2 separate regions of the Homo sapiens genome follow, and region 1 is linked to region 2. The links are contacts of gene promoters, found by promoter capture Hi-C in blood cells and fetal thymus (Javierre and others, 2016). All regions are on one chromosome and are shown on one strand. Each heading gives the region's core, a stretch centred on a gene start or on the middle of the fragment in contact. The rest is flanking DNA. Distances are from core to core; before and after follow the strand shown.

Region 1 (3,091 bases), core at 34-2,533, 3.9 Mb before region 2:
TTGGAGACAACAACTACTTGACTATGCAACAGACAACTGCCTTGCCCACATGGGGCTTGGCACCTTCGGGCAAGGGGAGGGGCTTGCAGCACCCCCCACCAGTAGGTTCGCAAGAAGGCCCTAAAGATCCTGAAGCCTGGAGCAGGCCACAGGGTTGGTATAATCATAGCGGGAAATAAAGCACCTTCCAAGCTTGCCTCCAAGAGTTACGAGTTAAGGAAGAGTGCCACCCCTTGAGGCCCCTGACTTCCTTCTAGGGCAGTCTGGCCTGCCCACAAACTGACTTTGTGACCTGTCCCCCAGGAGTCAATAAACATGATGGAATGCTAGTCAGTCTGAGCTCAGCCAGGGGCAGGGAGGGACTGGGATGGGGGTGGGAGCTGCCAGTGAGGGATAGGGAGGCACCACAGCTCTGCTATGGCAGGAAGTGGGGATGCTGGGGGCTGGGAGTGGGCAATGGCCTGGCACACAAGGTCAGGGCACAGCCGGCTACAACAGGAAGGAATCCTAGAGGCCTGGTTCCCCAGACCACTCTCTAATCTCAGGGCAGTGCTTCCTCTAAAGCCTAGGATGGCGACCCCACCCTAACCCTAAACTCTGGGGATAGAGGCTGTGGTCCCTTTTCTTCCGGGCTCTCAAGACTCACTTGCAGGGCTCTGGCGAGGGATGAGTTGATGTGAAAGATCACAGACCTGGCCCCGCACGGTGCCCCCAGGCTCTTAGAGATCATGACGCCACATACCTGCCTCCACCACACACTCAGGTTGCTTCCTGGACATTGCTTCCCTTTTGATTCCCAGTTGCTGTTCGGGAGTGGAAAGCTATGGCTCCTAAAGCTATACACAGGCGCAACCCCTCCCACGGAGCATGAACAGTTCAAACCCGGTGGTAGTGGTTGCCAGCCAAGCGGAGAGGTCAAGAGAATGAGCGCCCCCAACTCTGACCTAGATCCCCACCAGGACCCACATTCTTCCCTACATTCTCGCCAGGCTTCAGCCCCCCGCCCTCGGTCTCCCCACTACCAAACGTTCACCTCCATTTGGACACATCCCATTGGGTCCACCCCAGCCCACCCCTTCGCATCTCTCCCAGGGTCCACATTGCCCTTCCCTGAAGGGGCTGAAGCGGGGAGGCGATGGTGTTAGGAGAGACAAAACCAAGTGCGGGAGGAGACCAGGGGAGTCCGGCTTTGGCACAGGAAGGGGCCGGGCTGTCCCGTCGGGGAAGTGGGAGGGGGCCGCGGCGCCGGGAGGGAAGCGCCTGTCGCCCGGGACTCTGAGCCAGAGCGCAGCGGCGAGCGTGACTCCGCCATCAGGTCCCCGGCTCCCTCCCCGGACCTAGCCCACTCCGCTGCGCCAGCGCCGCGGGCAGTGAGTTCGGGGATCAGGGGAACCCGGGGCTCCCTCGCACCAACCCCAAATCCTGCCCTCCTGGCGATGAGGCTTTTCTAGGGCACCTCTACAATCCGGGTTTGAGGGAGGAGGAGGAAAGGACTGAGGGATCCCCTCATCGCCAGCTGGGAGCGGGCTGGGAGGCCGCAGGGAGGGCCTGAAAAAGGAGACGGGATTGCCACGAGGTTGGGGGCGCGGGGTGGTAGCGGCTTTGAGCGGGTGAGAAAAGCTCAGGTGGGGCCCGCCGGGCCGAAGGAGGTAACCCGGCGCCCGGCCCTAGCCAGCCCCGGGGCTCGGGGCTGGGGAGATCATGGCCCGCCTCTTCAGCCCCCGGCCGCCCCCCAGCGAAGACCTCTTCTACGAGACCTACTACAGCCTGAGCCAGCAGTACCCGCTGCTGCTGCTGCTGCTGGGGATCGTGCTCTGTGCGCTCGCGGCGCTGCTCGCAGTGGCCTGGGCCAGCGGCAGGGTGAGCCGAGCCTCTGCTGCGGGAGGGTCTCTACCTGGGGAGCATTTTCGGGGTTGGGGTTTGTGGGGTCTTCTTTTCGATGTGTTTTCGTTGCTGGGAGCAGAGAAAGAAAGGACCATTGAGCCTGGCTAGGAACTGCAGTGACCCTGGGCAAGTCACTCTACCCTTCTGGGTCTGCTCAGGGAGAAAGCTGAGTCCTGGATGCTTCTCGTTTCTGTCCGGGTTCTGACAGACTTTATGAACATCCGTGGTCTACGGGTTCTACAATAAATCCATCACCGGATTTTCCAGTTTTCCAAAGGGGAAATTCTAGGAGGCCCCTGGGGAATTCATTTCCTGCCTTTCTCTCCCTCTTAGGGGATGTAGAGCAGTTGTACCCACAGACTCCCAGAAGGCACCCTCCACCGGGCTCTCACTGAGTCCCAAAGTAAACCCATGTCCAGTTTCTGTTTGGGGAGGAAGAAGGTCTTCAATCCAATTCTAGAAATGGCCTGCCCCTGGTTTTCTTTTCACTGCTTGGAGGCAAGGTGGGAAAATCACCGGGCGCGGCCAATCCTTGCTGGTCCACGCCTAAATCCGGGAAGAGGTGGGGACAAAATGCTGGGACGGCTGTGCAGCTTCTGCTTGGAGTTGAGGCAGGTGGCGAGATCGCAGCCCTGGTGGCCAGGGAGGTGCGGGACGCCGCGGGTCCTGGCGCCCCCTGCTGCTCGAGCGCTGCCTCGCGCCGCCCTTCAAGCTGCCGGCCGCGGTCCCCGGCTCCGGGAATCTCCCGAGCAAATTGGCCAGATTTGGAGACATTCATTCCGAAGTGCCTCCTTGTGAGCTTGGATCTATCTTTCACTTGCTTCATGACGCTTTGGTTCCCGTTTGACAGATAAGAAAACTGAGGCTCAGAAACAAATAGGGGATGGGAGCCAGATCTTCTGGGTAGCTGTCCCAGCAAGATAATAGGTTGGACAACAGGAGGCTGGGCGCTGTGGCTCACGCCTGTAATCCCAGCACTTTGGGAGGCCAAGGCGGGAGATCGTTTGAGCCCAGGAGCTCGAGACCAGCCTGGGCAACTTGGCGAGACCCTGTCTTCTACTAAAAATACAAAAAAAAAAAAATTAGCTGGGCGTGGTGGCGGGAGCCTGTAATCCCAGCTACTCGGGAGGCTGAGGCATGAGAATCACTTGAACCCGGGAGGCAGAGGTTGCAGTAAGCCGAGATCGCGCCACTGAACTCCAGCCTG
Region 2 (3,102 bases), core at 464-2,963:
GCAGAGGTTGCAGTGAGCCAAGATCGCTCCACTGAACTCCAGCCTGGGAGACAGAGCGAGACTCCGACTCCAAAATAAATAAATAAAAATAAAATAAAATAAAACCAGGTTTAGGAATTGCTGGTCTGGAGGGAAGCAGAATTCGACCTAGATTCTAGTCCCAATATTGTCTTTTTAGGCATGTAATTTGTGCTTTAAATTATTTTCTCAGGTATAAACAAGGGATGTAAATTGGCCCCATCTATCTTATAGGCTCAATCTGAAAATGAATTGAATACTTGCTAACAACTTCCAAAGACCTATGGCTCTGTTACACAAAGTATTTGAATCTTTCTCCTGCTTTCCACCTGCCTGTGGTCTTCTTCCTGTCCTTCCCCCTCCCTGCCTCCTCCCAGTTTCCTTTCTCTCCACCGAGGATCTTTGCTCTTCAGAAACCTCAGGGCACTTACCCAGAACCCCTACACTAGCAAGAATCAACCCGTGTTACTTTTCTCCCAGTTCCAAGTCCAGTTCTCTCACATCCATCTGGGAAGACCAAACGTTGCTTTCAGAGGTGGCAATGAGGTGTGACAGAGCTGAACACAACTAACCAAGCTTTCACAGGAAATTTTTTACTTGGAAAGCAGAGCCCGGGAAACCAGACATGATTGCACAATACACCAGGCTACCCTCAGGGAAGCAGTTGGATCAGGTAGGTTGGGGGCTGGTCAACGGAGCCACAGGACAATGGAGAGAAGCAATTAAGCTGGTAAAATGTTAATCAAATGGCATCCCCAAAAGGTGCAAAGGAAATGAATGTGTGAAGCTGCCGCCACATGGCATGTCTAGCCACATCTCACAGCACTTCCTCATTGGCTATCAGTCCCCTCAAGAACACCCTGGCTCCCTGGGCATCCAAAAGCAACTGTGATGCCTAATGCAGGTCACTTGGACTGGGATATCCAGGACCCAAGCCGAGAGAAGAGTTTTCAAAGGCGTGGGGTGGGGGAAGTGAGCACAGGACTGTTGCTCAGTTCGGTGACTGATTTCCGTCTCCACTTAGCAGTCACTTCCCACCGAGTTAATCATACTGCCAGTCTGGAAGGAAGGGAGGAGTGCAACTGGCAAAGGAGGTGAGTAATCTTGCCTCTAAAGGAGGAACTCCGAATTTGAGCACCAAAAGTACCTCGCAGCTTTACCCAGACCCTAGCATGGGAATTTATGAAGAGCGCAGGGGGTGAGGAGACCTCCTCCTGGTATGGAGTGAGGGATATATACATATACTCACTCTCCACTTGTTCCCCTAACACACACACGGAGACACACAACGGCTGCTTTTACGGAGTAGCTTAGACCGCACCGACCTGTCCCCTTCCTGCTCCGGTGGCGCCACCCCAGCTCGATTCCCGCGTGCGTCCCTGCCCGCGCTGGCTGCCGCATGACTCTGCCGCCTTGCTCCCGACACTAGGCTCAGTGCCAGGCCTCTCTGCATCCCCTGGGCGCTCGCTCCCTCCGCCAGCTCCCTCTGGGCCCAGTGTGCCAGGTTCCCGGGTCACAGCACCTGCCCCTCCCCAAGGGTCCTGCGGGCCTGGTGCCCTCCTCACCCGTTCTCCATGGTCTCGCAGACGCCTTCTCGATGAGCCTGCTCCGGTGTGCTCCGATCCGCTCCGATCCGATCGGATCCGCTCCGCTATGCTGAACTGAGCAAGGCTGCCGGGTCTGGTTCGCACAGTTGGCTCACTGGTCTAGGCTCTGGCTTATATCCCTTGCCCTGGAGTCCCCAGCCAATGGCAAGCGAGCACGCGGGCCGGCCCTGTCTCCATGGTGACACACCCTAATTCAATCGGCTGAACCTGGGCTGTAAACCTAATCAGAGTTCTTCCCAGCCCTAAACCTTCTGCCCCGGGGCGGGCGGGGGGAGCCGGAGCGCACCCAGCATTTCATCTCGGTACCCATTCCAGTCCGCAGGGCAGGAGTTCCCAGCAAGAAGGCCTATGCGGAAATAGGGCTAGAAGTAGGGAGGAGAGCCCCCAGCCCTCTCCTTGCAACCTCATTCCAGCTGTGTCAATAGCAAACCGTGAGAGATTCAAAAAGGAAAAATTTCATACCTTAGATTGTACAACCCCAGAATAAAAATGAAGCGAGACTGTGTCTGAGTTGCTCCCTGGACAAGGGAAGCTGGGTCGCCCCCGGCAACAGTGCTAACTTGGAGGATACAGGGTTTAGGAGAGCACATCCAGGCCCAGACCGGGAGAAGAAAAAGTTCTCAGGCAAGAATTCCGGGGTCCTAGATGCCGACAGAAAGGATAAGGATGGATTTGGTGGGTAGGGACACAGATAATCCCTTGATCTGCGCAATATTGATCCAAGCAATTCAGGTAACTAGAGGACTCCTCCCACGAAGAAAATTCTGTTATCGGAATACACGGGTACCAGAATATAACATAAATAGCGTGTCTTTGGTAGAATACAACTATTACTTCTGCCCACATTTACAATTTAATTTTTACATTTAATTTACATTTTTACATTAAATTTACATTTAATTTTTAATTTAAAAAATTAAAAAAAAATTTATATATAAAGGCCAGGCGCGGTGGCTCACGCCGGTAATCCCAGCACTTTGGGAGGCCGAGGTGGGTGGATCACCTGAGGTCAGGTGTCGGAGACCAGCCTGGCCAACAAGGCAAAACCCCATCTGTACTAAAAATACAAAAAATTAGCTGGGCGTGGTGGCAGGCGCCTGTAATCCCAGCTACTTGGGAGGCTGAGGCAGGGAGAATGGCTTGAACCCGGGAGGTGGAGGTTGCAGTGACCTGAGATCACACCATTGCACTCCAGCCTGGGCAACAGAGTGAGTAGCTGGTTCCTGAGAACTTACTAGCACTTTGAAAATAACAATGCACACAAATTGAAAAAAAAATTTCGTTCTTAAATAACCACAAACAGTTACTTACGGGATATGTACATCTGTTTGGCACTACTCAACTTCTCACATGCAGGAATCCAATGCTGCCACCCTCATTTTCTGTTCCATGCTGATTTTTACACAGTACTTTTTTTTTTTACTTAATACTTAATTTTTATCAGAGGGACCTTCTAAAACCATCTTTTGTAAAGATA

The links. Contacts are between HindIII fragments. The CHiCAGO score rates a contact against its expected background, and 5 or more counts as called.
Region 1: the fragment with the promoter of ADCY4 here is called in contact with the fragment with the promoter of PNP in region 2 in 1 of 17 cell types (non-activated CD4 T cells); the score reaches 5.8 in non-activated CD4 T cells.

The regions. Positions count from the first base shown.
Region 1 is chr14:24,333,263-24,336,353 of GRCh38, reverse strand. ADCY4 (adenylate cyclase 4) reads left to right here and starts at 1,283. Exons shown (of 25, transcript NM_001198568.2): 1 at 1,283-1,860. The coding sequence starts at 1,702. It overlaps RIPK3 (receptor interacting serine/threonine kinase 3), which reads left to right. Exons shown (of 10, transcript NM_006871.4): 10 at 1-329. The coding sequence ends at 179. RefSeq lists silencers at 1,577-1,656, 1,727-1,886, 2,547-2,646. The HindIII fragment of the contact is 4,552 bases long and covers 195-3,091 here.
Region 2 is chr14:20,468,017-20,471,118 of GRCh38, reverse strand. It overlaps PNP (purine nucleoside phosphorylase), which reads right to left and starts at 1,713. Exons shown (of 6, transcript NM_000270.4): 1 at 1,584-1,713. The coding sequence starts at 1,594. RefSeq lists enhancers at 1,022-1,151, 1,182-1,251, 1,442-1,946 and a silencer at 1,662-1,781. The HindIII fragment of the contact is 7,340 bases long and covers 597-3,102 here.